7 separate regions of the Homo sapiens genome follow, and regions 1, 3, 4, 5, 6 and 7 are each linked to region 2. The links are contacts of gene promoters, found by promoter capture Hi-C in blood cells and fetal thymus (Javierre and others, 2016). All regions are on one chromosome and are shown on one strand. Each heading gives the region's core, a stretch centred on a gene start or on the middle of the fragment in contact. The rest is flanking DNA. Distances are from core to core; before and after follow the strand shown.

Region 1 (3,416 bases), core at 284-2,783, 380 kb after region 2:
CTTTAAGACCTGCATAAGACTTGGTTCGTACCACTGGACTGTAACTTAAATAAGTTAGTGATTCCTAGCTTAAGTGTGAAAATGAGATTGGAAATAATTGATGTACCATGGTAATTTAAATAAATGCAGTCTGACTCTAGAACCAGATATTGAGTTGTCAATGTAGGAGTGACTCCTTGCTCTTAAGCTTATGGGGCAAAACTCAAGTTTATGACACATGCAGAATAATTCCAAGGCAGCATAGTTACCATTATTCACTATTTATGTGTTAGGTGGCTTTCTGGTCTTATATATGAAGCGCTTTTACTTTAATTGGTTACTTTAATTGGTTATGTTTTACAGGAAGGCTGAAGTTACATTGGATGGAGTTTGGCCAACAGATAAAACATCTCGTTGTTTAATAAAGAGCCCAGATCGCCTTGCTGATATCAACTATGAAGGAAGATTGGAAGCAGTTTCAAGGAAACAGGGAGCTCAATTCAAAGAATACCGGCCTGAAACTGGTTCTTGGGTGTTTAAGGTATAGTCATTTAACCCAGTTCAGACTTTTATAAACTATATTTGGAGTCACATAACGTTTATGTTGGAAGGGATCCTTTGCTAAATTCTATTGATTGATTGATGGGGTTCTTGCTCTGTTGCTCAGGCTGGAGTACAATGGTGGGATCATAGCTCCCTGCAGCCTCAAATTCCTGGGCTCAAGCAATCCTTCTGCCTCCGCCTCCCAAGTAGCTGGGATTATAGGCATGCACTACCATGCCTGGCTACTTTTTAAAATGTTTGTAAAGATCGAGTTTCTCAGTGTTGACCAGGCTGGTCTCCAACTCCTGGGATCAAGCAGTCTTCCCTCCTTGGCCTCCCAAAAGTACTGTGATTACAGGTGTAAGCCACTATACCCAGCCAAATTCTCTTTATTTTTAGAAATTTGGAGAGAGATGTACAGATACATTATGATTCACTCCAAACTACAAACCTAGTTAAAATTCAGCAGTAATGAGTTCTTACAAACTGTGGGCTCGTGATTCAAGTCCTCTACCCAACTCCTATGAGGATTTATAAATACATTTCTAAGGTGTAGTTTTTCTAATGTTTGTCATCATTAGGGACTTCAGTAATTCATCAGGCAGGTGTCTATTGGATCAACTCTTCCTATGTAATTGTCATTCTTACTTTTAAAGATTTTTGGAGATGAAGAGGTTGACTGTCCGTAATAGTTTAATCCAATGATTTCCTCCCATTCTAGGCTGGTTGAATTATTTAACTTGTTAAAGGCCCTTGGGTAGATAGAGGATAACAGGCAATATATGTCTGTGAAAATAATAACAAGTCTTTGGATTAAGTTTCCTATATTAATGATTACAGTTTAAATGACATTTTAATGTATATTATGTAATCTTTATTAATTTACTAGTATGAGCAACTAGAGCATACATCAAACGTCTTCTAAATCTTAGATAAAAGTGTGATAGGTGATATATTTTGCTTTAAATACTTAGATATTTCTCCCCTTTTCTTTCTTTTTTCTTAAGGTAATGCTGCAAGATTGCAAAGGCAGGTATTGGGAAAGCATAATGTTTAAGTTGTTTTGTGGGGTTCTTCTCTTCCTTAGGTCTCCCATTTTTCTAAGTATGGCCTTCAGGATTCTGATGAAGAGGAGGAGGAGCATCCGTCTAAAACTAGTACAAAGAAGTTGAAGACTGCTCCTTTGCCTCCTGCAAGCCAGACTACGCCCTTGCAGATGGCTCTTAATGGCAAACCTGCACCTCCACCTCAGGTAGAGAAAAAAGGACAGTGAATTTGAATGGAATCCGTGATACCGAAGTTGAAAGCAAGTCATTCAGCTAATACAAAGCTGTTTTATGACCCTTGGAACTTTGAAGAGTACAAACATTGGCAATCACGTTGAAACAAGTGCAAGGGAGGGCGTGAGGTCTTGCAGGCATCTGTCTTTTTACTGGAGAGATTTAAAGAATTCTCTTGCTGTTTGGATTATTCCTCTACAGATTGTCATTTTTAAACCCTTTGTTCTCTCTCATTTGGACTTGCTGAATTCTCTGCTCAGTGATTAACTTAAGATTTGCTCATGTGGGTTCATGCACAGTAAATTCTGCCTTTATTGACTACCTGATGTGCAGTTTAATCTTTTTCTTTACCTCCATGGTTTTTTAAAAGTTAAATTAGCTTTCTGAAAGGGTTTTTAATCTCCATTTTTTTAAAGTTGTTTGCTTATACTTCGGGTAACCTTGATATTTGTATTTTAATAGTACATAATCTTTATGAAAAATAGTTTGGGAATGTAAATGAATTATTATTTGGCTTGGGGAGATTAGGGCCTACATTGTTTATCGCAATTACTTGTATCATTGATACGGGATTTCTTTGTAAAGCATCCTCTACCTCTCAGCTGCTGAAAGCTAGACCTTTGGTATTTTCCATGCTATAATTCTTATGGCTGCTGAAATGTGTGGTTTTTATGATTTATTAAATAATCTCTTAGGAGGCATTTCTGGAGAATGTGTGTATATACATGTTTGCGCGTACAGGGGAGGGGAGGGTATGATAAATGTGGGAAACTGGAAATATATTGACTTTTATGTTTATAATCTTGGTAGCATTTAGAATGCCCCTAAGAAATCTCCATTGACAAATGAAATGCTATAGACTTGGTTTTCCAGTTATCCATATTCATTTTGTCTGTCATATGCTTTGTATCATCTCCTTCTTTCCTAATTTTTTATAACCTTATATATATATTTATTATAAATATATGTATTTCTGAGGGAAAGAGTCAGATGGCCTTATTTTCTGTAACAAAAGTAATATGTAGGATCTTAAAGATAACCTCTTTCCAGTTGGCCCAGCTGAAAAAGAAAAGCTTCATTTATGGACAGACAGGAAAATGTTTGTAATGTTGACAGTAGTTTCTAGGTTCTTTAATTGCCAGAATAGAAATAGTAGAAAAATAACTATAAACTCCTATATTGACACTTGTGTTTGTGAGAGCTCTTTGAAAAATTGAGCACCCAAAAATTTCAGATCAAGGTTCTAGCAAAAAGAGGTAGTAAGGATTTAAAATGGGCAAGTAGCTTTTTTTTTCCTTGAGAAAGAGTTGTCGCCCAGGCTGTAGTGCACTGGTGCAGTCTCGGCTCTCTGTGGCCTCTGCCTCCCAGGTTCAAGCAGCCTCATTCCTCAGCCTCCCAAGCAGCTGGGACTACAGGGCATACCACCACACTCATCTAATTTTTTGTATTTTTAGTAGAGAGGGGATTTTGCCATGTTGGCCTCAACTCATGTTGTCTTGAACTCCTGGCCTCAAGTGATCCTCCCACCTTGGCCTCCCAAAGTGCTGGGACTACAGGCGTGAGTCACCATGGCTAGCCTAAAATGGGCAAGTAGCTTTGACTGAGGAAGTGGAA
Region 2 (3,255 bases), core at 691-3,190:
TTGAGCCCAGGAGTTCAAGACAAGCCTGGGCAACATAGCGAGACTCCTTCTCTAAAAAAATACAAATAAATAATAATGTAAAAAAATAAAAATACAAAAATAGATGCTCAGCTCTCACTCTTATGAATGGATCAATAAAAGTGCACTATGTTATTTTGCTCTTTGGTCAGCTAAAATGTGAGCTAGGAAAATTCACAGAATGATGTTCTCAAGATACCAAAAACAAGAAAGGCCACTACTGTCCACCTTTCCAACTCTTGTCTGTAGTTAAACCAATCTGGACATTGGCTGTAGTTAAACCAAATCAACTACCTGCTTATTCACAGCATTCATCGTGTCCTACATTTTGATACAACTATTTTCATTCATTCTTTAAGAATCTGTTCATGTCAGGTCCTGTGCTAAACGTGAACAGAAAAGTCTCCATCTTGCTTGTATTCCCAGCACTTTGGGAAGCCAAGGAAGGGAGGATGGTTTGAGGCCAGGAATTCAAGGCCAGACTGGGAAACACAGCAAGACTCCTTTACTACCAGAAATTTTTAAAAATTAGCCACTCATGGTGGTGCATGCCTATAGTCCCAGCTACTTGAGAGGCTGAGGCAAGAGCATCGCTTGAGCCCAGGACTTCAAGGTTACAGTAAGCTATGATTACACCACTGCATTCCATCCTGGGTGACAGAGCAAGACTCTGTCTCAAACAAGTCTCCATCTTTGAAATGTTCACAGCCTAGAGGACAAAATAGAAACAACCAGTCGATTAACCAGTATTTACTAAGTGCCTACAATTTTGAAATCATTGTATTGCTTTAACAAAGGCAAGTAGGTTCAACTCAAAACTTGTTCATACGTATCTCATGCGGTTGTTAAAAGTATGTTGCTCTTGTTTTTCCAACCCGATGAAGCCTGTTCCCAAGGCAGGGACTGTCTCCTCCTACAATCTCACAAAGCCAAGCAAAGGGCTGGGCACAAAGCGGGCACTTGGCAAGTCTAATGAAAAAGAACTGTTGAGAAAGAATACGAGTTCCTGACTCTTCCCAGTCCCCATCTTGTCAGAAGATGTCTCAGCCACCCTTCTCTGATTCAGCATCTCTTCCCATGAAGGGAAAGGAACTCGAGGGTGCTGTCTGTCTGGGATCTGTTTTTTCCACGCCACACTCCTATCCTCACCCCACAAAAGAGATCAGTAAACTGACAAGTGCCTACGGAGGGTAGAGAGGCCCCCTCCTTCTTTCCTAGCTGCCCCCCGACCCTGTGCCTAAGACAGCTCACCAACCCCACGGTTTTCAAATCAAACCGTATTGTCACCTATGGGTGACTTTGGGTCAGTCGGCGACACCTCGCTCTGAGCGTCAGTTTCCTCATCTGTAATAAGCTAATCATCTCTCAGAGGCTTGCAGGGAGGAATAAAATAGTGCCTGGCAAGTGCTCGGCGTACGCAGTCACTACTCGATACGGGGTAAGTGTTATCCTTTTGAAAGGCGGCAGGATGACAAAGCCGAGGGGGCGCAGCCTGAAGGCCCGAAGGAGGTTCGGGGCAGGCTGACTGAAGACAGAAGGCCGAGCGGGCTGACAGGGCGGAAGGCCGCGGCGGGAAATGCGGGAAAGGCGGGAAGCAGCGAAGGCGGGCGGGCGGTCTGGGCATCAGCTCCGGCGGCGGCAGCCCGCATCCCCTCACCTTCCTTCTCGCCCACCTCGTCCCCCCCTCACCTCGCTTGATCACATGCATCGCAGCTAGTGGCTGAGGCTCTGAAGGATCCAAGACTGGACTGCGGCTCTAAAGCGCCGGCGGGATCGAGAAGGTGACAGAGTGGGAAGGGTTAGGTTCCAGGCGCTGCTCAGGGGAAAGAACTGGAGTTGGAGCCAGACAGCACTTTCTTCAGAGCAGAGGCGCAACAATCCAAATCCCCTTCCCGCGCCCGCCACCCGTGACGCACAAAGGGGCGCGACGGGGTTCGAATGACGTTACTCGACGCTGCGGCCCACGCCCGGGGTAGGCTTCACAGACTGACAGGCGACGTGTAGCCGCCATGTTGAGTCTGGGCAAGACCCAGAAGACTACGCCTCTCCCATGGGCCCCATTGGATATGGACATGCCCGGCGGAAATGCTGCTCTCCTGCTACCATGTTTTGTGTGGGCAAGCCGAGTTCGGGACCCTCGGGGCCCTGGCGTAGCACCTAGAGCCCGCTGGGTCAGGCGCCGCCCTCTCACCTGCGCGTCTCCGCCGGAGGAAAGGCGGTTAATTTATTTTTGAAATAACAAAACCTAACCGGCGGGAACGTTTTTCTTGCTCTGACATTTATTATAATAATACTAACACTGCCGTCCGCTGTGGGCTCCAGCCCAGGCTCCACAGCCGTGGGCAGCTTGGAGCCCCAGGGCTTTTAGATCGGCCAGAGGACTGACACTCTGGAACTGGAAGAAAACCGCGCAAGGCCGATGGCGTTTGGATTTTATCCTGACGCAAATCAGAGCCCTGAGAGAATTTTAAGCAGGGCAGGGTCAGTACCCATTTGCTTTTAGGGTTCTTCAGTGGATGGTGGCAGAGACAGGGTATTTGCCTTGTGGAGGTAGGATGGACTTGGTGACTTAGAGTGGAGAATAAGAATAGATGAGAACCGTAATATGTAAGGCTGGTGTAGAAGCTTCTGATTTGGGCTACCCAAAGCGATCTTTATGAAATTTCATCTGTGGCATCTTTTCCCTAAAGCCTTTTCGTTGGTTTCTCACTGCCCTCCAGAAGCTGCCCAGGCTCCCTGTGAAGTAATTTCAAAAATCATGGAAAGTCGTAAGTGAGCCTGTAATTGCAGCATTTTGGGAGGCTAAGGCGGGAGCATCATGTGAGGCCAGGTGTTGAGATAAGCCTGGGCAACATAGTGAGACCCCATTTCTACAAAAAATAGAAAAAGTAGGCCAGCGCGGTGCTTCACTCCTGTAATCCCAGCACTATGGGAGGCCAAGGCGGGCAGATCACGAGGTCAGGAGTTCGAGACCAGCCTAACCAACGTGGTGAAACCCCCCCGCTGCTAAAAATACAAAAAGTAGCCAGGCATGGTAGCACGCGCCTGTAATCCCAGCTACTCAGGAGGCTGAGGCAGAAGAATCGCTTGAACGCTGGAGGCAGAGGTTGCAGTGAGCCAAGATCGCGCCATTGCACCCTAGCCTAGGCAAGAGAGTGAGACGCCGTCTCAAAAAAAACAAAAAAAAAGAAAGAAAAATTAAATAGATATGTTTTTTAAAAGTCGTAAGTGAAGTTA
Region 3 (3,201 bases), core at 372-2,871, 420 kb after region 2:
TAGCTGGGTGGTGTGCACCTTTAGTTCCAGCTATTCAGGAGGCTGAGGTGGCAGGATGGCTGTAGGGTATTTTGGTAGTTGTTCTTTAACAAGTTAAGGACAGTTCCCCTCTACTAGCTTGAATAAGTGAATGTTGGATTTCAATTTGAAATGATGTGAAACGCTTGTGTGTTAGGAAGGTGGTTGGAGATAAGCAGAGTACCTGGGAGAGGGGACGGGTGGAGAAAGTGCAGGGAATCACTGGCATATCCACGATGCCCAAAGTCATGGCTATGGATGTGATTGCCAGGGAAGTATGTGCTGCTGTTGGTCAGGCAACTGGTCAGCTTGAACAAAAATAATCAAAACTCTGTGCATGATAAATACCTGTGACCTGAGGATAGCCTGGCTACCTTACTGGGACCACAGTGTAAATATTGTTGATGACCTGCTGTACCTTAGGCACCGTGCTAGACAGTGCCTTGCACTATCAGGTTATCTCATTTAAATCCTTGCAGTTTTCAAGATGAGTACTGTTAATCCCATTACCAGATTGAGAGAACAGAAACCCAGAGAGTTTAAATATCTTACCCAAGTGAGAGCGCTCATAAGACAGGGCCGAAAGTGACTGAATGCTTGCCCTCTTCTCCCACACTGCCCACAGTGTTTGGGCAAGGTGAAAAAACAGGCTCAGATGGGAATGACTGCAGGGAGTCTGAGGAGAGGATGTGGGCTCCATCTTCTGCTCCACTGGGTCATCTGGAGTGGCCTGAGGCTCAGCACTACTCCCACCAGGAGGGAAGGGCTTGCTTGACCCAAAGTGCCTAGCCTGGAGTGTCTAGTCCCGCACTGCAAGGAGAGCTGCAGGTCTAAGGCAAACCTCCACCTCCAGAATTCAGGCAATGGTGGCTAAGATGAGAGGACAGTTATCCATCCACTGACCCTGGCCCCTCACACTCTTAAGCCCTGGTCTTCCACATACCCTGACCCAGCATACCTGTACTCTCCAACACCCGAGGATGGGCCTGAGCTGAGTCTGTGTGCTGCTTTACAGAGTTTGAATAATTCAAGCCCCAGAGGCCCGAGGTATCAGTTTCCGTTGCTCTGTTGTCATAGGCACGGTGTAATTAAGCTAATGAAAGGGCAGAGAGGGAGGGGCTGTGGTCCTGTGCCTCGGACGACTCTGGGCTGATCAAGGGAGGAGTCCCTGGTCCCTGTTCTGCTGAGAGAGCAGCAGGCCCATCTAGAGTCCAGGTGTGGGGAATGGAAGAAGGAAGGAATGAGGGATGAAACAGAAGTAGGAGAAAGGGAGAGAGAGTGGAAAGAGGCAGGCAGGGGATGATCAGAGTCAGGGAGGCAGAGAGACCAAGAAAGTTACAGACGGAAAGAGAAGGAAGCAGAAACAGAGTGAAAGACAAAGCAGGTGGGGAGCATAGGAAAGGGCAGAGGCAGAGGCCAGAAGAGGCAAGGACCAGCAGAGAAGAAGAAAGACCAAGTACTAAAATCCAGGGGCAGGCACAAATTGGAGGGTCAGAAGACTGGAGGGGCTGCAGGGCTCGCTGGAGGGTGGCTGGACCCACCAGAGATCTGTCTTACTTCTGACTTCTAGGTACTGTCCACACCATCCTTGCCAGCTGGGCCTAATTTTGCCCTAGGTCTGGCCAGGAGGCCTCACATCCAGAGACCTGCCCCCGCTCTTGCAGTGCCAGGGCCATGGGGCTCCGGAGCCACCACCTCAGCCTGGGCCTTCTGCTTCTGTTTCTACTCCCTGCAGGTATGAAGCTCAGTACACCAGCCCTGGCCTCTCCTGGTGGTGCTACTATTCCTGTTCTCCCAAAATCCCTTTCCATGTAGTCTCTCTTGTGTTTCTCCTCAGTACCTGTTCTGAGAACAAGCTCTCTATTTGGGGAGTGTGGAGGAGAGGGGTGCTGAAGTGCGTGAGAGGAGACTTGCCTGGCTAGGGTGGAAACAGTGAGCGGGGAGCTTCCAGAGACAGGGCTGGGAAAATCAGAGGGGCCAGATGTTGAAGGGCCTGCCGGCCAGGCCAGGTCTTTCTCCTGCAGATGACGGGGAGCACTGAAAGGTTTCAGCAGCATACTAGCCTGGTCAGATGTGCATGCTTAAAAGCGTGGTCCTGGGGCATGGGAGGGGTAGAAGAAGGTGAGCCTTTGGGGAAAGGGAGACAGTGAAGGGAGGGCCCTGACCTGGAGGGGAGAGGGTAGACTCAAGACGATGTTTCGCAAAATCTGGAGGATTTGAATGATCTGACAGGATCTGGAGATTAACTGGATTCCCCGAGGAGGAGGCAGCAGAGGGAGAAGGGAGGGATAATTCCCAGATTTCCAACTAAGGTCACTGTTGAAGCTGAGGGCATGCTATTTGCTGAGATAGGGAACATGGGATAGGAAGCAGGTTTCAGAGCATGGAGGGAGGAAGCGAGTTCATATTTTGGACCCTCAGAGTTGAAGGTGCCTGTGGGAAACTCAGGAGTGGACTGTACTCTATTGGGGTCTGGAGCTCAGGAGAAAAATCTGGGATGAAGAAAAAGATGGGAGCCAAGGACAGGATTCATGGGAACAATGTTTAGGTCAGGGATTGAGGAAAATTTGTGTCAGTAAAGCCTGGGGAAGTGTGTTTTCAGAGTGAGGGAGTGTTCCATCGCATCAGAAGTTTTGAAGAAACCAGCTCGAGATGGAGAAGTGGAAACAGGTTTGAGAGATACTGGAGGGGGCAGAGCAGTGGGGTTTAGAATCCCTGGGTGAAAGTCTGGACTCTTGTGGCTTATTTGGGCCCCTCTAGCATTTGTGGAGAGGCAGGCAGACTCCAGGTCCTTGAAAAGGGGAGGGTGGAGGAGAAATTTGTCAGCCTGGCGCCAGAAGATAGTACCAGTTCACTCCATGGCCTTTACCTCATGTGTCCCTGCAGGCAGGCCAGGGAGGAACTAGAGCCACAGCTAGAGCAAGAGAAGGCAGACACCAGGAGGACACTCATAAGGACAGGGCCCCAGCCCTGGGAGTGGAGGGTGTGAGCAGAGGCCCTGGGACTAGGGCCTGGGATGGACAACCCTCCTTACTGACCCTCCAGAGTGCCTGGGAGCTGAGGGCCGGCTGGCTCTCAAGCTGTTCCGTGACCTCTTTGCCAACTACACAAGTGCCCTGAGACCTGTGGCAGACACAGACCAGACTCTGAATGTGACCCTGGAGGTGACACTGTCCCAGATCA
Region 4 (3,221 bases), core at 473-2,972, 360 kb after region 2:
GCACCTGTAATCCCACCTACTCGCAAGGCCGAGGCAGGAGGATTGCCTAGTCTGGGAGGCAGAGGTTGCAGTGAGCCGAGATCGCGCTACTGCGCTCCAGCCTGAGTGACACAGCAAGACTCTGTCTCAAAAAAAAAATTGTTTTAATTTTATTTTTTTCTCATTTTTTATTGGTTTTAGTAGAAGGTGGTAGCATAAATTATTGTAATATGCCATTTTTACTTGTATAGCTTTTTGACTGGTTTTTAATAATCCATCTCTTTTTCCAAAGTTCCTGACACAAGAATTTAGTTAATATTAAATTTGTGTGCCTTAACATTACTGCCCATTTAAAGGTAATTGTATTTACTTTTAGAATGTACATCTTTATACCACGGAATCTTAGTTGAAGGTACTTTAGAACTATGTGAGTGTGCCTTGTCTTAAAAAAACCTCAGGTATGGTGGCTTCCTTACAGGCAGTACAGTCTGTTCTTCTGTTCTGGTTGTGTGGAAACCAAATCCTTCCTCCATAGAGTTTCCACCCAGTGGTTCTACTTTTATTTCCTAAAGCTAAGCAAAACCAGTCTAGTATGTATGGTTTCTTTTCTTTCTTTCCTTTTTTTTTTTTTTTTTTTTTTGAGAGGAGTCTTACTCTGTCACCCAGGCTGGAGTGCTGTGGCACCATCTTGGCTCACTGCAGCCTCTGCCTCTGGGTTCAGACAATTCTCCTGTCTCAGCCTCCTGCGTAGCTGGGACTACAGGTATGTGTCACCATGCCCGGCTAATTCTTGTATTTTTTAGTAGAGATAGAGGTTCACCATTTTGGCCAGGCTATTCTTGAAGTCCTGACCTGAAGTAATCTGCTTGCTCAGCTTCCCAAAGTGCTGGGATTACTGGCATGAGCCACCATGCCTTGCTGTAGTATATTTGTGGTAACCCACTGACTTTCTTCTGGATAAAGTATCATCAGATTCTTGTGTTTCATCAGAAGACTTGGTTTTTGTACTTTTCCCTATCCCTTTAATCATTTGGTTATGATTTAGTTTTTTGGAATCTTTTATTTTGAAATTTCTTTGGAATTTGTTCTTTGGAAAGTTTTCAAATTATTTTGACCAAGATTGAATGTAATACCAGTAGTTGCTTAACTAGTGCTTGTTTGTTTTCTTGTTTTTGCTAATCTATCAAGATACTCTCTTACCTGTGTCTTTAAATACTACAGTTAACACAAAGTTTATATTTATTCATACAGATATAAAATCATGCTCATGCACTTTCTTGTGTTTGGATTTGTGAAAGGAAGTCTTTGGTTTTTTTTTTTTTTTTTTTTGAGAACGCCCAGGTAGAATGATTTGTACTTGTTAAACGATGGGATCAACTAAGACAGGTCAGTTTTCTAAATGAGTAATTGCCTGTCCAGTAACAAAATGACCAGTGAGGTTTGGAGTTCTCTAAAGTTTTTCTTGAGTCTCCTTGCATAGTCCCCAAAATAGCAGTATGCTGTTAATCTGTAGTACTGTGTACCAAAAAAAAAAAAACTTTTCTTTATTTTTTGCTCTTAAATTGGATTTAGGAACTTTCTGAATACAGATGATTTACTCTGTGCTCTTAAAATTGACATCTCTTGGTTTGAGATCCTGAGCAAACTTGTCCTGTCTAGTTAAATATCAACATGAATGTACGGTGTTTTAGTATTTATTGAATACATCGATTTTAAGAAACCTTTGACTCTTCTTTTTCATTAATTTAGCTATAGCAGCCTGTTCTGTTTTTGTTTGTTTGTTTGTTTTTGAGACGGAATCTCGCTCTGTCGCCTAGGCTAGAGTGAAGTGGCACGACCTTGGCTCACTGCCAGCTCTGTATCCTGGGTTCACGCCATTCTCCTGCCTCAGCCTCCGGAGTAGCTGGGACTACAGGTGCCCACCACCATGCCTGGCTAATTTTTTCTATTTTGTTAGTAGAGACAGGGTTTCACCATGTTAGCCAGGATAGTCTCGATCTCCTGACCTTGTGATCCGCCTGCCTCGGCCTCCCAAAGTGCTGGGATTACAGGCATGAGCCACCACGCCCAGCCTCTTTTTTTTTTTTTTTTTTTTGTTATTACTGCTTTTGTTCTCCACCCACTCCCCACAACATTGTGAGACTTTTCAGAAAGTTTTATGTCACTCCTTTACTGTGGATTATTGTATTATATTTTGGCAGTAACTTTATTTGTAAATGTTTATAAGGGAAAAAGGTAGTATTTTTGTCTGTAAAATGACTTTATTATGTTTTGGGTTTTGATCAGTATTTTTGGAAAGAGATTTTATCTTGCAAAGAGGTTTCTTCTTCAGTCAGGGTATACTGTAGTGGTTTTGCTTTTTTCTTAATGTTTTACTTGGTACAATGGTAGATCATGAATAGTCTTCATTGTTACTTATGTCTGTTCCCTAAATTCTCTGCAATTGATAACAGATGTTCTTACACTTTGAGAAAAAATTAGGCTTAGTGATTTCTTTTTTCTTTCAGTTTATATTATGTGAATGTTAAATAAATGTAAATAATAAACTTATAAGGATAGCCTAAGCATTTTCTTCAGGAAGACACCTGGATTTGGGGGAAAAGAAAAAACCACATTTTTGTTTGTATGCTGCCTTCCTCTGTAGCCTTAATGTACATAATATTTTTATTCTGGAAATTTTACTTAAAGATAATTTCATATTTCCACAATGAAACAAATTATTATTTTTAATAACTACATAACCTATGTTGATGTGTCATGATGTTTACAACTTTTTTGTTTGTTTGTTTGAGGCAGAGTCTCGCTCTTTCACCCAGGCTGGAGTGCAGTGGCGCGATCTCGGCTCACTGAAACCTCCACTTCCTGGGTTCCAGCTGGGGTTATAGGTGTGCGCCCCCACGCCCAGCTAATTTTTTGTATTTTTAGTAGAGGTGGGGTTTCACTGTATTGGCCAGGTTGGTCTCAAACTCCTCACCTCAAGTGATCTGCTCGCCACGACCTCCCAGTGCTGGGATTACAGGCATGAGCCACTGCACCCCGCCTACAACTATTAACTTAATATTGGACACGTAGGTTGTTTCCATATCTTGACTGTATATATACTATGCAGTGAATGCTTAGGAATTTATTTTCTTTCTAGTTCGAGTTAAATTTTCATGATTAAAATTATGAGGTTAAAAAATAGAGGCCAGGCATGGTGGCTGACTCCTGTAATCCTGGCATTTTGGGAGGCCAAGGTGGGC
Region 5 (3,489 bases), core at 677-3,176, 310 kb after region 2:
GAGTCTCGCTGTGTTGCCCAGGCTGGAGTGCAGTGGCACGATCTCAGCTCACTGCAGGCTCCACCTCTGGGGTTCAAGCAATTCTCCTGTCTCAGCCTCCTGAGTAGCTGGGACGGCAGGCGCCTGCCACCACACCTGGCTAATTTTTGTATTTTTAGTAGAGACGGGGGTTTCACCATGTTGGCCAGGCTGGTCTCGAACTCCTGGTCTCAGGTGATCTGCCCGCCTCTGCCTCCCAAAGTGTTGGAATTACAGGTGTGAGCCACCGCGCCCGGCCAAGGGTGTGCTTTAGAGTAACTTGAACTTTTTCTGAATGCAAATGTCTGTACCCCAGCCCTAGACATTTTTGTTCAATATTTCTAGAATGGAGCCTGGGGGTTTGTATTTTTGTTTGTTTGCTTGCTTGCTGGAGTGCAGTGGCACCATTGTACCTTGCTGCAGGCCTGAACTCCTGGGCTAAAGTGATTCTCTAGCTTCAACCTCACTAGTAGCTGGAGCTTCGTACAGGTGTGCACCATGTTTTTTGTTTTTTTTTGTTTTTTTTTTGTTTTTAATAGAGACAGAGTCTTGCTGTGTTGTCCAAGCTTGTCTGGCTTTAAGCAGATCATCCTGCCTCAGCTTCCCAAAGCATTGGGATCTACAGATGTGAGCCAGTGTAACCAGCCAGAGTTTGTATTTTGAAAAGCTTGCCACCTAATTCTGATGTGGCCCTCTAGAACCACTGGTTTTAGTGAGCTTTGTTTAATCAAAGGAGTTACTCAGTTTTTGGATATTGAGATAAAGAACTTAAGTATTTGATTTTTTTTCCTAGGAAATTTCAGGAGAGAGAATATTTCTGTAAAGCATTTATTTAAGGGACAGCCTTATCTTTTTCAGTGTTGCACAAAATGTTTGGTTATTAGAATGACTGGAAGTGTTAGTGGGATACTAGAATTTGGGGAAGACCTCAAAATGCAATATTTAATTCTATTATATGAACACGGCCTGAGTTTCCTAGAAGAAAAGACTACTCTTTACATACATTGTGTGGCTATAATAGAAAAATCATCATCTCTGTCACAGAATCCAGATGAGCATGATTGACTGTTTTCAGAGTTTTTATGCTGAAAGTAGTTTACTTATTAATTTATTGTCTGCTAGCAGAAAAGAGGTAGCAGGCATCTAAATTTAAGGAAAATTTGTGGAGGGGGAAAGCTCTGAGTAAACTATGAAGCTATTTTTTATTTTTATTTTATTTATTTTTTTTTAATTGATCATTCTTGGGTGTTTCACTATGAAGCTATTCTTATTCAGACAGGGGGAACCAAACTTTTCTGTGTAGGCGTTCTTGGAACAGTTTGGTTCAGTTCCTTAAATGACCGGGTGCATAGTTTGGATACAGGAGTAAAATAATTTATGTGAGGTGAGCGTTTTTGTTTTTGTTTTTGTTTTTGAGACAGAGTTTCATTCTTGTCACCCATGCTGGAGTACAATGGTGCGATCTCAGCTCACTGCAACCTCTGCCTCCCAGGTTCAAGCAGTTCTCCTGCCTCAGCCTCCCAAATAGCTGAGATTACAGGCATGCACCACCACGCCTGGCTAATTTTTGTATTTTTAGTAGAGACAGGGTTTCACCATGTTGACCAGGCTGGTCTTGAACTCCTGAGCTCAGGTGATCCACCCGCCTTGGCCTCCCAAAGTGCTGGGATTACAGGCGTGAGCCACCGCGCCCAGCCAAGGTGAGCAGTTTTTTTTATTTGTTTTTGAGACATTGTCTCACCCTATCACCTTTGCTGGAGGGAAGTGGCATGATAATGGCTCACAGCAACCTCCACCTTCTGGGCTCAAGCGCTCCTCCCACCTCAGCCAACAGAGTAGCTGGGACTACAGTCCCGTGTCACCACACCAGTCCAACTTTGATTTTTTGTAGACAGGGTTTCACCATGTTGCCCAGGCTGGTCTCGAACTCCTGGGCTCAAGCAATCAGCCCGCTTCAGCCTCCCAAGCTGTCAGGATTAGAGGTGTGAGCCCACTGTGCCTGGCCAGAGGTGAGGGATTTTCATCAAAGGTTTTTCTGTAATCTTAGAAGTAGAAGATAGATAAGTAGGGGACCATAGAGAATAGTCTTAAAACGTAATCTCAAAGAGAATGTCAGGGCACCAGAATCTCTGGGATTTAGAGATAGAAGGCGGGGCATGCATAATTTGAAAAACATTTACTATTACCATGTTTTATATCCCTCGAAGGTAGGGGAGAAAGAAACTTTATAATGCAAACTATGGAAAATAAAGCCTTGGCCGGGTGCGGTGGTTTGCGCCTGTAATCCCAGCACTTTGGTGGTGTAATCTCAGCACCCAGGTGGGTGGATCACTCGATCAGGAGTTTTTTTAAGACCAGCCTGGCCAACATGGTGAAACCCTGTCTCTCCTAAAAATACAAATAATTAGACAGGCATGGTGACACACGCTTGTAATCCCAGGTACTTTGAGACTGAGGCAGGAGAATAACTTGAACCAAGGAGGAGGAGGTTGCAGTGAGCCACTGCACGTCCTTCTGTCTCAAAAAAAAAAAAAAAAAAAAAATGTTAGCTTTTTAGGTGGTTGGGTTAGCAGACTGTGTTTTAATTTTTGATGGATATGATTCATAACCTCCTATGAGGATCATATAAACATCTTGCCTTGTAGACCTGAAATATTTATTGATTAAAAAGGGGACTTAGGTTAAAAAAAAAAAAAGATTGAAAACATTGTTTTAAATGGATGGTTAATGTTGGGATCTGAAGTTTAACCTCACATTATGAAGTTTAACCTTACTGTTCAGCTCAGGAACATTGTAGATTATAAAGATCATTTTACAAGGTTTATTTTATCATACAGTTTGAGGATTTTGAATGAGAGTATATACTATAGTTCGAATAGGCCTAAGTTTGTGGAATGATAGATTTTCTAAAACAATTATATTCCATTTTGTGGTCTTTAAGAGAGTGATAATGTTTTCTTTTTCCCAGCTTTCTGAAACAAAGACTCATTTTGAAGATGTTTAACAAATCATTTGGAACACCCTTTGGGGGTGGCACAGGTGGCTTTGGCACAACTTCAACATTTGGACAGAGTAAGTTTTTAAAAAGGACAAAAGAGGGAGAAACCTTAATCTCCCTTACTAAGAACAAATCCACTCTGATAAGCTTTAGGTGGGAATTTTATTTTTACTTTCATATTTATAACAAAGTCGTCTTGAAAAAATAATTAGGATAAGATCTCTTTAACAGTTTTTAAGAAAGTAGAAATAAATTCTAAGTTTTCATGGCCTTCTTCTGATTGTCAGTAGAAGATACTTAAAATATTTATATTATTTTGGTTGACAGAAAGTTATAATTTGTTACTAATTTTCAGACCAGAAAATAATTCTCTTAATGTTGAAGTCTAAAATGCAGTTATGAAATAACTGCCCTGGAATTTACCCTGTGAACATGATGTGACATTCATGTCACAGAAATGTTAAAATGTGGAA
Region 6 (3,418 bases), core at 830-3,329, 400 kb after region 2:
TGGATTTATTTTGAAGAGTTTTGCCACTTTTGGGATTATAAGGAACAAATCACAGGAAAAGCCAGAATCAGTAAGCTATATAAAGGGCTTGTTGCATTCCACTGTCACTACACATTTAGCCTGGTAGCTTCCTGTTTTCTTTTCTTTTTATTTTTTAAATAGAGATGGGGTCTGTATGTTGACCAGGCTGGTCTCAAACTCCTGGCGTCAAGCAGCCCTCCTGCCTCAGCCTCCCAAAGTGCTGGGATTAGAGGCGTGAGCCACCACATCCAGCCTCCGTCTGGTACTATTTATGGTCTTTGTGCATTTGTACAGTGAGAATTTATCTTTGGGATTGATCTTGTATGAACTTATTATGAATCATTAAAAAAAGGTTATGCTCACCAGGACACCAACATGTAGTAGGAGAGGATCTTAAGGCATGCCAGAGTCAGATTCTTAGGGCTGTTGATTCATAAACTCCACTTTCTTCCTGTTTATTTTGACTGTAAGGCTAAACCTCTGGTAAAGGTACTGCCTTTTAGGTTACTAAAAGCTTTTGCTTTACTACTCCCCCCCTTTTTTTTTGTTTTTTGTTTTGTTTTTGTTTTTGTTTTCGAGACAGTCTCGCTCTGTACCCCAGGATGGAGTGCAGTGGCATAATCTTGGCTCACTACAACGTTTGCCTCCTGGGTTCAAGCGATTCTCCTGCCTCAGCCTCCTGAGTAGCTGGGATTACAGGTAACGTGCCACCACACTCGGCTAACTTTTGTATATTTAGTAGAGATGCCGTTTCGTCATGTTGGCCAGGCTGGTCTCGAACTCCTGACCTCAGGTGATCCGCCTGCCTCAGCCTTCCAAAGTGCTGGGATTACAGGCGTGAACCACTGCCTCCGGCCTTTTTTTTTCCCTCCCCCCTGCACCAAGACAGAGTCTTGGTCTGTCACCCAGGCTGGAGTGCAGTAGTGCAATCTCTGTTTACTGCAACTTCTGCCTTCTGGGTTCAAGTGGTTCTCGTGTCTCAGCCTCTTGAGTAGCTGGGACTCCAGTCACGTGCCACCACGCCAGGCTAATTTTTGTATTTTTAGTAGAGACAAAGTTTCATCATGTTGGCGAGGTTGGTCTCGAACTCCTGACCCCAAGTGATTTGCCCGCCTTGGCTTCCCAGAGCACTGGGATTACAGGTGTGAGCCACCGTGCCCAGTGTTTTCCTCCATTTTTCCTTTTTATGTTTAAGATAGAGTCTCGCTCTTGTTGCCCAGGCTGGAGTGCAATGGTGCGATCTTGGCTCACTGCAACCTCCAACTCATGGGTTCAAGTGATTTTCCTGCCTTAGCCTTCCAAGTAGCTGGAATTACAGGTGTGCACCAGCACGCCCGGTGATTTTTGTATTTTTAGTAGGGACGGGGTTTCACCATGTTGGTCAGGCTGGTCTCGAACTCGTGACTTCAAGTAATCCACCTCCCTTGGCCTGCCAGAGTGCTGGGATTACAGGCATTAGCCACCATGCCGGGCTGTTTTCCTCCATTTTGTAGCTGAGGTGTCTTGCCTAGTATCACAGAAGTAGTGGTAGATCTGTTGTTGATGTCTATATGCTATTCAGTCTATAGGTAATTTAGGTTAAACTACTTTGCAAATTTTCTATCCAAGCAGAAAATGGTAAGTTTTTGATCAATATTTTGGCACTACTGCAGAAAGCAGTTAACAATGTTAAATCCTCCCTTCTGAAGGCTGGAAGAAATGAAGATAATGCCCCCAAGTGTTTGACGAAGTCCATAAACCCTTAGTAATAACCAAAAAACTTCCATTTCTCTTATAGGGGATCATCGTCTTGCTCTTCTTTTATCTCAGTTTGTGGGTAGCCAGTCAGTCCGGGAGCTGCTCACCATGCAGTTGGTGGACTGGCATCAGCTCCAAGCAGACTCCTTCATCCAGGATGAGAGACTGCGCATCTTTGCTCTGTTGGCTGGAAAACCGGTATCTTCTACTTTTACCATAATATCTCACATTGGTTTTTTCATAAATTGAAGCTGGTTTGAGGTTGAGGCAAGGAGTGATCTTTGTAAATTGTGCACAGTTACACAAAATGTTTTACACATTGGACAATTTTCAAATTATAAAGGCAGGCATGCACACTTTTAAAAATCTAGTTGTATAGAAATTAAAATGTTAAAATGTATCATATCCCATATCATATAGTGGTAAACAATATAAATAATTTTATCTTCACAGAAATATTCTAGTTTAGTTAATTAATTTTTTTGAGATAGGGTCTGGCTCTGTTGCCTAGGCAGGAGTACAGTGGGGTGATCTTGGCTCACTGCATCCTCCATCTCCTAAGTTCAAGTGATCCTCTCACCTGAGCCTCCCAAGTAGCTGGGACTACAGGCACACGCTACCATACACAGCTAGTTTTTAAGTCTACATCCACATATATGTTGTTCCTATTTACATGTTTGTATATACAAATGAAATAAATTATACATAGGAGTTCTGTGATTTTTTTTATTTATATTTTGTTCATTTAAAAAAGAATTTATAGCAATAGGGTCTCAGTATGTTGCCTAGGCTTGTCTTGAACTCCTGGCCTAAAGGGATCCTGTCACCTATAGGTCTCCCAAAGTGTTGAGATTACAGGCATGAGCCACTGCATCAGCCCTGCAGCATTTTTTTTTTTTTTTCTCTTGAGACAGAGTCTCGCTCTGTTGCCCAGGTTGGAGTGCAGTGGCACGATCTGGGCTTACTGCAAGCTCCGCCTCCCAAGTTCACCTCATTCTTCTGCCTCAGCCTCCTGAGTAGCTGAGACTACAGGCACCTGCCACCACGCTGGGCTAATTTTTTGTATTTTAAGTAGAGACAGGGTTTCACCATGTTAGCCAGGATGGTCTCGGTCTCCTGACCTCATGATCTGCCTGCCTCAGCCTCCTGAAGTGCTGGGATTACAAGCGTGAGCCACCGCGCCCGGCCCCCTGCAGCTTTTTTTTTTTTAAACCTACTGTATGTGAATATTTTTTCATGTCATGAAGCGTTATTTTTGTTGTTGTTGTTGTTTTTTGAGATAGAGTTTCGCTCTTATTGTCCAGGCTGGAGTGAGTGGCACAATCTTGGCTCACTGCAACCTCTGTGTCCCAGGATCAGGCGATTCTCCTGCCTCAGCCTCCCAAGTAGCTGGGATTACAGGCGCCTGCCACCACGCCTGGCTAATTTTTGTATTTTTAGTAGAGACGGGTTTCCCCATGTTGGCCAGGCCAGTCCCAAACTCCCGACCTCAGGTGATCCACCCACCTCGGCCTCCCAAAGTGCTGGTATTACAGGCATGATCCACTGCACCCGGCCTTTTTTTTTTTTTGTATTTTTAATAGAAACGGGGTTTCACCATGTTGGCCAGGCTGGTCTGGAACTCCTGACCTCAGGTAATCCGACCACCTCGGCCTCCCAA
Region 7 (3,666 bases), core at 328-2,827, 330 kb after region 2:
AAATCGTTGAAAATGAAGGACCTAGACATACTATTTTGCTTCTCAGTGTTGCAACCCTGACATCTCTTAGAGCACAAGAGTTAAAGTCTTATTATTTAATAGACGCCTAAGACCTTGGAGTTCATCATCCTGGGAAGAACAGGGGCTTAAATATAGGTTTGAACTTCTGTTCCTACCATTCAGGAGCTGTGGCACCTTGGGCAAGTTTTAAAATGCTCTGAGCTTTTTGAAAAATATACTCCCTGCTTTTCAGGGTTGTTTTGAAGGAAATAATCTATATAAGTTATTTAGCCTAATATCTGTCATATAAGCTTGAAAAAATGGTAACTTTTTTTTTATTACTCTGAGATTCGTTACGGAAACTATTACAGGATATCTTTTAATCTATATAAACTTCTTTGCAGGGATTATTTGGAGTAACCCAAGCCTCACAGCCTGGAGGTCTTTTTGGGACAGCTACAAACACCAGCACTGGGACAGCATTTGGAACAGGAACAGGTCTCTTTGGGCAGACCAATACTGGATTTGGTGCTGTTGGTTCGGTAGGTTTCTGCAGTTGACTGTAATTTGAAGATGTGTGTAAATTTGTTAAAAGGAATTTTCTTCTAAGGATTTGACTGTTTTGCAGGTATTTTTATTGGGTGTATTATTGCACCAGCCTAATATGATTTGATTCTGAGAACAAAAAATTATTTGATATAAAATGAAATTTCAGGTTAACTTCAGGTTTGTTTTCAATTAGTAAATTCTTTCCCTTTTAAAATTTCTTTGCCTCAGTGCTTATGTGCATCATACTTCTGATAGCATTGGTTAAATTGTTGAGTCTAAATTGAAATTCTTTTGCTTTATTTGAATCAGATAATTTTTAACTCCTAGTTCTTCCCTCTTTTGTAGGTGATAAATTGGTATGATGTTTGGGAATGAAATGTTTTTGGGGTTGATCAAATTGTTGAAATTGTTGAGGTACTCATGGAAGAAACTTTGAACTTGCTATTGTGAGTAGGTTAAAAAAATTAAAAAAGAGCCAGGCGCGGTGGCTCACGCCTGTAATCCCAGCACTCTGGGAGGCCGAGGTGGGTGGATCACCTGAGGTCAGGAATTCGAGACCAATCTGGCCAACATGGTGAAACCCCGTCTCTCCTAAAAATACAAAAAAAAAAAAAACCACTAGCTGGGTGTGGTGGTGGGTGCCTGTAATACCAGCTACTTGAGATGCTGAGGCAAGAGAATCACTTGAACCCAGGAAGTGGAGGTTGCAGTGACCCGAGATCGCGCTATTGCACTCTAGCCTGGGCAACAAGAGCAAAACTCTGTCTTAAAAAATAAAAAAGGAACACAAAGTCCCTAAAACATATGGTCCTGTTTTCATGGAGATTGAAATTTCTCTTTTCTTTTTTTAAACTTTGGACAGATAATTGAGGTAAGAAATTGAGAAAATTATATAATGCTTCAAGACATTCTAGTACTTCTGTTGTTGTTGTTGTTGTTGTTGTTGTTTTTGAAACCGAGTCTCGTTCTGTTGTCCAGGCTGTACTGCAGTGGCATGATCTCGGCTCACTGCAACCTCTCCCTCCCAGGCTCAAGCGATTCTCGTGCCTCAGCCTCCCAAGTAGCTGGGATTACAGGCGTGTGACACCATGCCAGGCTTTTGTTTTGTTTTTTGTTTTGTTTTGTTTTGTTTTTTTGAGACGGAGTCTCGCCTGTTGCCCAGGCTGGAGTACAGTGGCGTGCGATCTCGGCTCACTGCAACCTCTGCCTCCCGGGTTCAAGCAGTTCTCTGCCTCAGCCTCCCGAGTAGCTGGGATTACAGGCGCCCGCCACTGCGCCCAGCTGATTTTTGTATTTTTAGTAGAGAATGGGGTTTCACCATGGTGGCCAGGCTGGTCTCGAACTCCTGACCTCGTGATCCACCTGCCTTGGACTCCGAAAGTGCTGGGATTACAGACGTGAGCCACCACTCCTGGCCTTAATTTTTGTATTTTTTAGTAGAGGTGGGATTTTGCCACGTTGGCTAGGCTGGTAACTCCTGGCCTCAAGGATCCTTCCGCCTTGGCCTTTCAGAATGCTGGGATTACAGGCGTGAGCTACTGTGCCCGGCTTCTAGTACTTTCTAGTGACAGATTTATTGATGTATAGTCCACATGCCATACAATTTGTCTCTTTAAAGTGTATAGCTAGGTGATTTTTAGTATATCAACAAAGTGTGCAACTATCACCATATTTAATTTTAGAACATACTCATTATGCCAAAAAGAAATGCCATAGTCATTGGCAGTCACTCCTGATTTTCCTGTAATCATCTTAAGCCTACTTTCTCTCTATGGATTTGACCATTTTGAACACTTCATGTAAATGGAATCATAATATGTGGTCTTTTGTGATTGATGTCTTTCACTTAGCATAGCATTTTCAAGGAACATCCATGTAGCATGTTCAAAGTTTTTCTTGTAGTGATTTCTTCTGGCAAAGCAAGTATTTGCTACATTTCTCTTAACAGGTAAAAAGATATTTGATGGCCTTGTTATTTTTTTCTTTGCCTCACTGAAATCTGGTTTCATTGGATTCATTGTGTTTCAGTCGTAATCCTTAGGGGTTACCATTAACTTTTCAGGCCAGAAGCATTCCGTGTTTATAAAGTTAATCTTGCCCAGATTATTTTTTGATAGCCTTTATTCATCTTTTTTCTACCTTTTTTATGAATGTTAGGACATCTTTCTCCCACCCCATACCCAACCCAGTATACCTGAGGTAACCTGTATTTAGTTTGGTGTGTGTCTTAATATTATTTTAAATTTTCCTGTATTCTATTCTTTTTAGACCCTGTTTGGCAATAACAAGCTTACTACATTTGGAAGCAGCACAACCAGTGCACCTTCATTTGGTACAACCAGTGGCGGGCTCTTTGGTAACAAACCAACCCTGACTTTAGGAACCAATACAAACACTTCTAATTTTGGTACATATAAAAAGCAGGTTTGGCTCTCTTAAAGTTACACTGACTATACCACACGTTATTCTCCTGATTCGTATGATTGGAAATATTTAAAAGTTCTCAGGTAAGCGGTAGCTTGATGTGAAGTACCAGAGGGAAAGGTTTAAAGTCCTGGATATGGCTTGAGATAATTAGTAGGCATGTAAATTGCCTTTCATTTACTTTGGATTACTTCAGCAATAGCTGAGAAACCATAAAGGAAACACATTTGGTTAAGTAACACATTGTATGAGGCCAGGTTTCAAACCTGTGGTAGCATACAGAAGATAATTGGTTATTCTTATTTTTGTCGTTGTTGGTTTGTTGTGTTGTTTTGTTTTTGTTTTTTTTTTTTTTTTTGGTGGAGAACAGGGTCTTTATATCGCCTTAGCCTCCCAAAGTGCTGAGATTACAGGTGTGAGCCATTGCACCTGGCCTGGTTATTCTTAGTGAAAGTCAAAATATGCCAGGCATCATGGTGAGCACCTGTAGTCCCAGCCATTATGGAGGCTGAGTCAGGAGTATCACTTAGGAGTTCAAGGCTGCAGTGTGCTATGATCACACTTGTGAATTGCCACTGCATTCCAGCCTAGGCAACATAGTGAAAGTAGGTCTCTAAAAAAAATAATAAAATAAGAAAAATAATAGAAGAAAGTTGAAACCTTTCTGATTTGGGGGATTATTCAGTAGTTTAT

What was found. The method cuts DNA at HindIII sites, captures the fragments that hold promoters and counts their contacts. A CHiCAGO score of 5 or more calls a contact.
Region 1: a contact is called between a fragment that was not itself captured here and the fragment with the promoter of RRM1 in region 2, in 13 of 17 cell types (total CD8 T cells, naive B cells, total B cells and 10 more). The highest score is 18.0, in total CD8 T cells.
Region 3: a contact is called between the fragment with the promoter of CHRNA10 here and the fragment with the promoter of RRM1 in region 2, in 2 of 17 cell types (neutrophils and total CD8 T cells). The highest score is 6.2, in neutrophils.
Region 4: a contact is called between a fragment that was not itself captured here and the fragment with the promoter of RRM1 in region 2, in 13 of 17 cell types (total CD8 T cells, non-activated CD4 T cells, total B cells and 10 more). The highest score is 16.8, in total CD8 T cells.
Region 5: a fragment that was not itself captured here is called in contact with the fragment with the promoter of RRM1 in region 2 in 14 of 17 cell types (naive CD8 T cells, total CD8 T cells, naive CD4 T cells and 11 more); the score reaches 34.9 in naive CD8 T cells.
Region 6: a fragment that was not itself captured here is called in contact with the fragment with the promoter of RRM1 in region 2 in 10 of 17 cell types (non-activated CD4 T cells, total CD8 T cells, naive CD8 T cells and 7 more); the score reaches 12.0 in non-activated CD4 T cells.
Region 7: a contact is called between a fragment that was not itself captured here and the fragment with the promoter of RRM1 in region 2, in 14 of 17 cell types (total CD4 T cells, total CD8 T cells, naive CD4 T cells and 11 more). The highest score is 30.9, in total CD4 T cells.

The regions. Positions count from the first base shown.
Region 1 is chr11:3,710,922-3,714,337 of GRCh38, reverse strand. It overlaps NUP98 (nucleoporin 98 and 96 precursor), which reads left to right. Exons shown (of 33, transcript NM_016320.5): 19 at 343-520; 20 at 1,610-1,774. Among named protein-coding and RNA genes, the nearest start is that of CHRNA10, 41 kb to the right of the region's middle. The HindIII fragment of the contact is 2,688 bases long and covers 190-2,877 here.
Region 2 is chr11:4,093,484-4,096,738 of GRCh38, reverse strand. RRM1 (ribonucleotide reductase catalytic subunit M1) reads right to left here and starts at 1,940. Exons shown (of 19, transcript NM_001033.5): 1 at 1,708-1,940. The coding sequence starts at 1,726. RefSeq lists enhancers at 1,711-2,180, 2,241-2,310. The HindIII fragment of the contact is 7,950 bases long and covers 1-2,645 here.
Region 3 is chr11:3,669,804-3,673,004 of GRCh38, reverse strand. CHRNA10 (cholinergic receptor nicotinic alpha 10 subunit) reads left to right here and starts at 1,621. Exons shown (of 5, transcript NM_020402.4): 1 at 1,621-1,753; 2 at 3,064-3,201. The coding sequence starts at 1,693. The HindIII fragment of the contact is 7,798 bases long and covers 1-3,201 here.
Region 4 is chr11:3,736,175-3,739,395 of GRCh38, reverse strand. All of the region lies in intron 12 of NUP98 (nucleoporin 98 and 96 precursor), which reads left to right. Among named protein-coding and RNA genes, the nearest start is that of NUP98, 60 kb to the left of the region's middle. The HindIII fragment of the contact is 4,702 bases long and covers 1-3,221 here.
Region 5 is chr11:3,781,643-3,785,131 of GRCh38, reverse strand. It overlaps NUP98 (nucleoporin 98 and 96 precursor), which reads left to right. Exons shown (of 33, transcript NM_016320.5): 2 at 2,987-3,090. The coding sequence starts at 3,015. Among named protein-coding and RNA genes, the nearest start is that of NUP98, 14 kb to the left of the region's middle. The HindIII fragment of the contact is 2,478 bases long and covers 688-3,165 here.
Region 6 is chr11:3,693,987-3,697,404 of GRCh38, reverse strand. It overlaps NUP98 (nucleoporin 98 and 96 precursor), which reads left to right. Exons shown (of 33, transcript NM_016320.5): 26 at 1,799-1,956. Among named protein-coding and RNA genes, the nearest start is that of CHRNA10, 24 kb to the right of the region's middle. RefSeq lists a silencer at 750-970. The HindIII fragment of the contact is 3,083 bases long and covers 538-3,418 here.
Region 7 is chr11:3,759,778-3,763,443 of GRCh38, reverse strand. NUP98 (nucleoporin 98 and 96 precursor) reads left to right here. Exons shown (of 33, transcript NM_016320.5): 9 at 405-542; 10 at 2,818-2,905. Among named protein-coding and RNA genes, the nearest start is that of NUP98, 36 kb to the left of the region's middle. The HindIII fragment of the contact is 2,527 bases long and covers 314-2,840 here.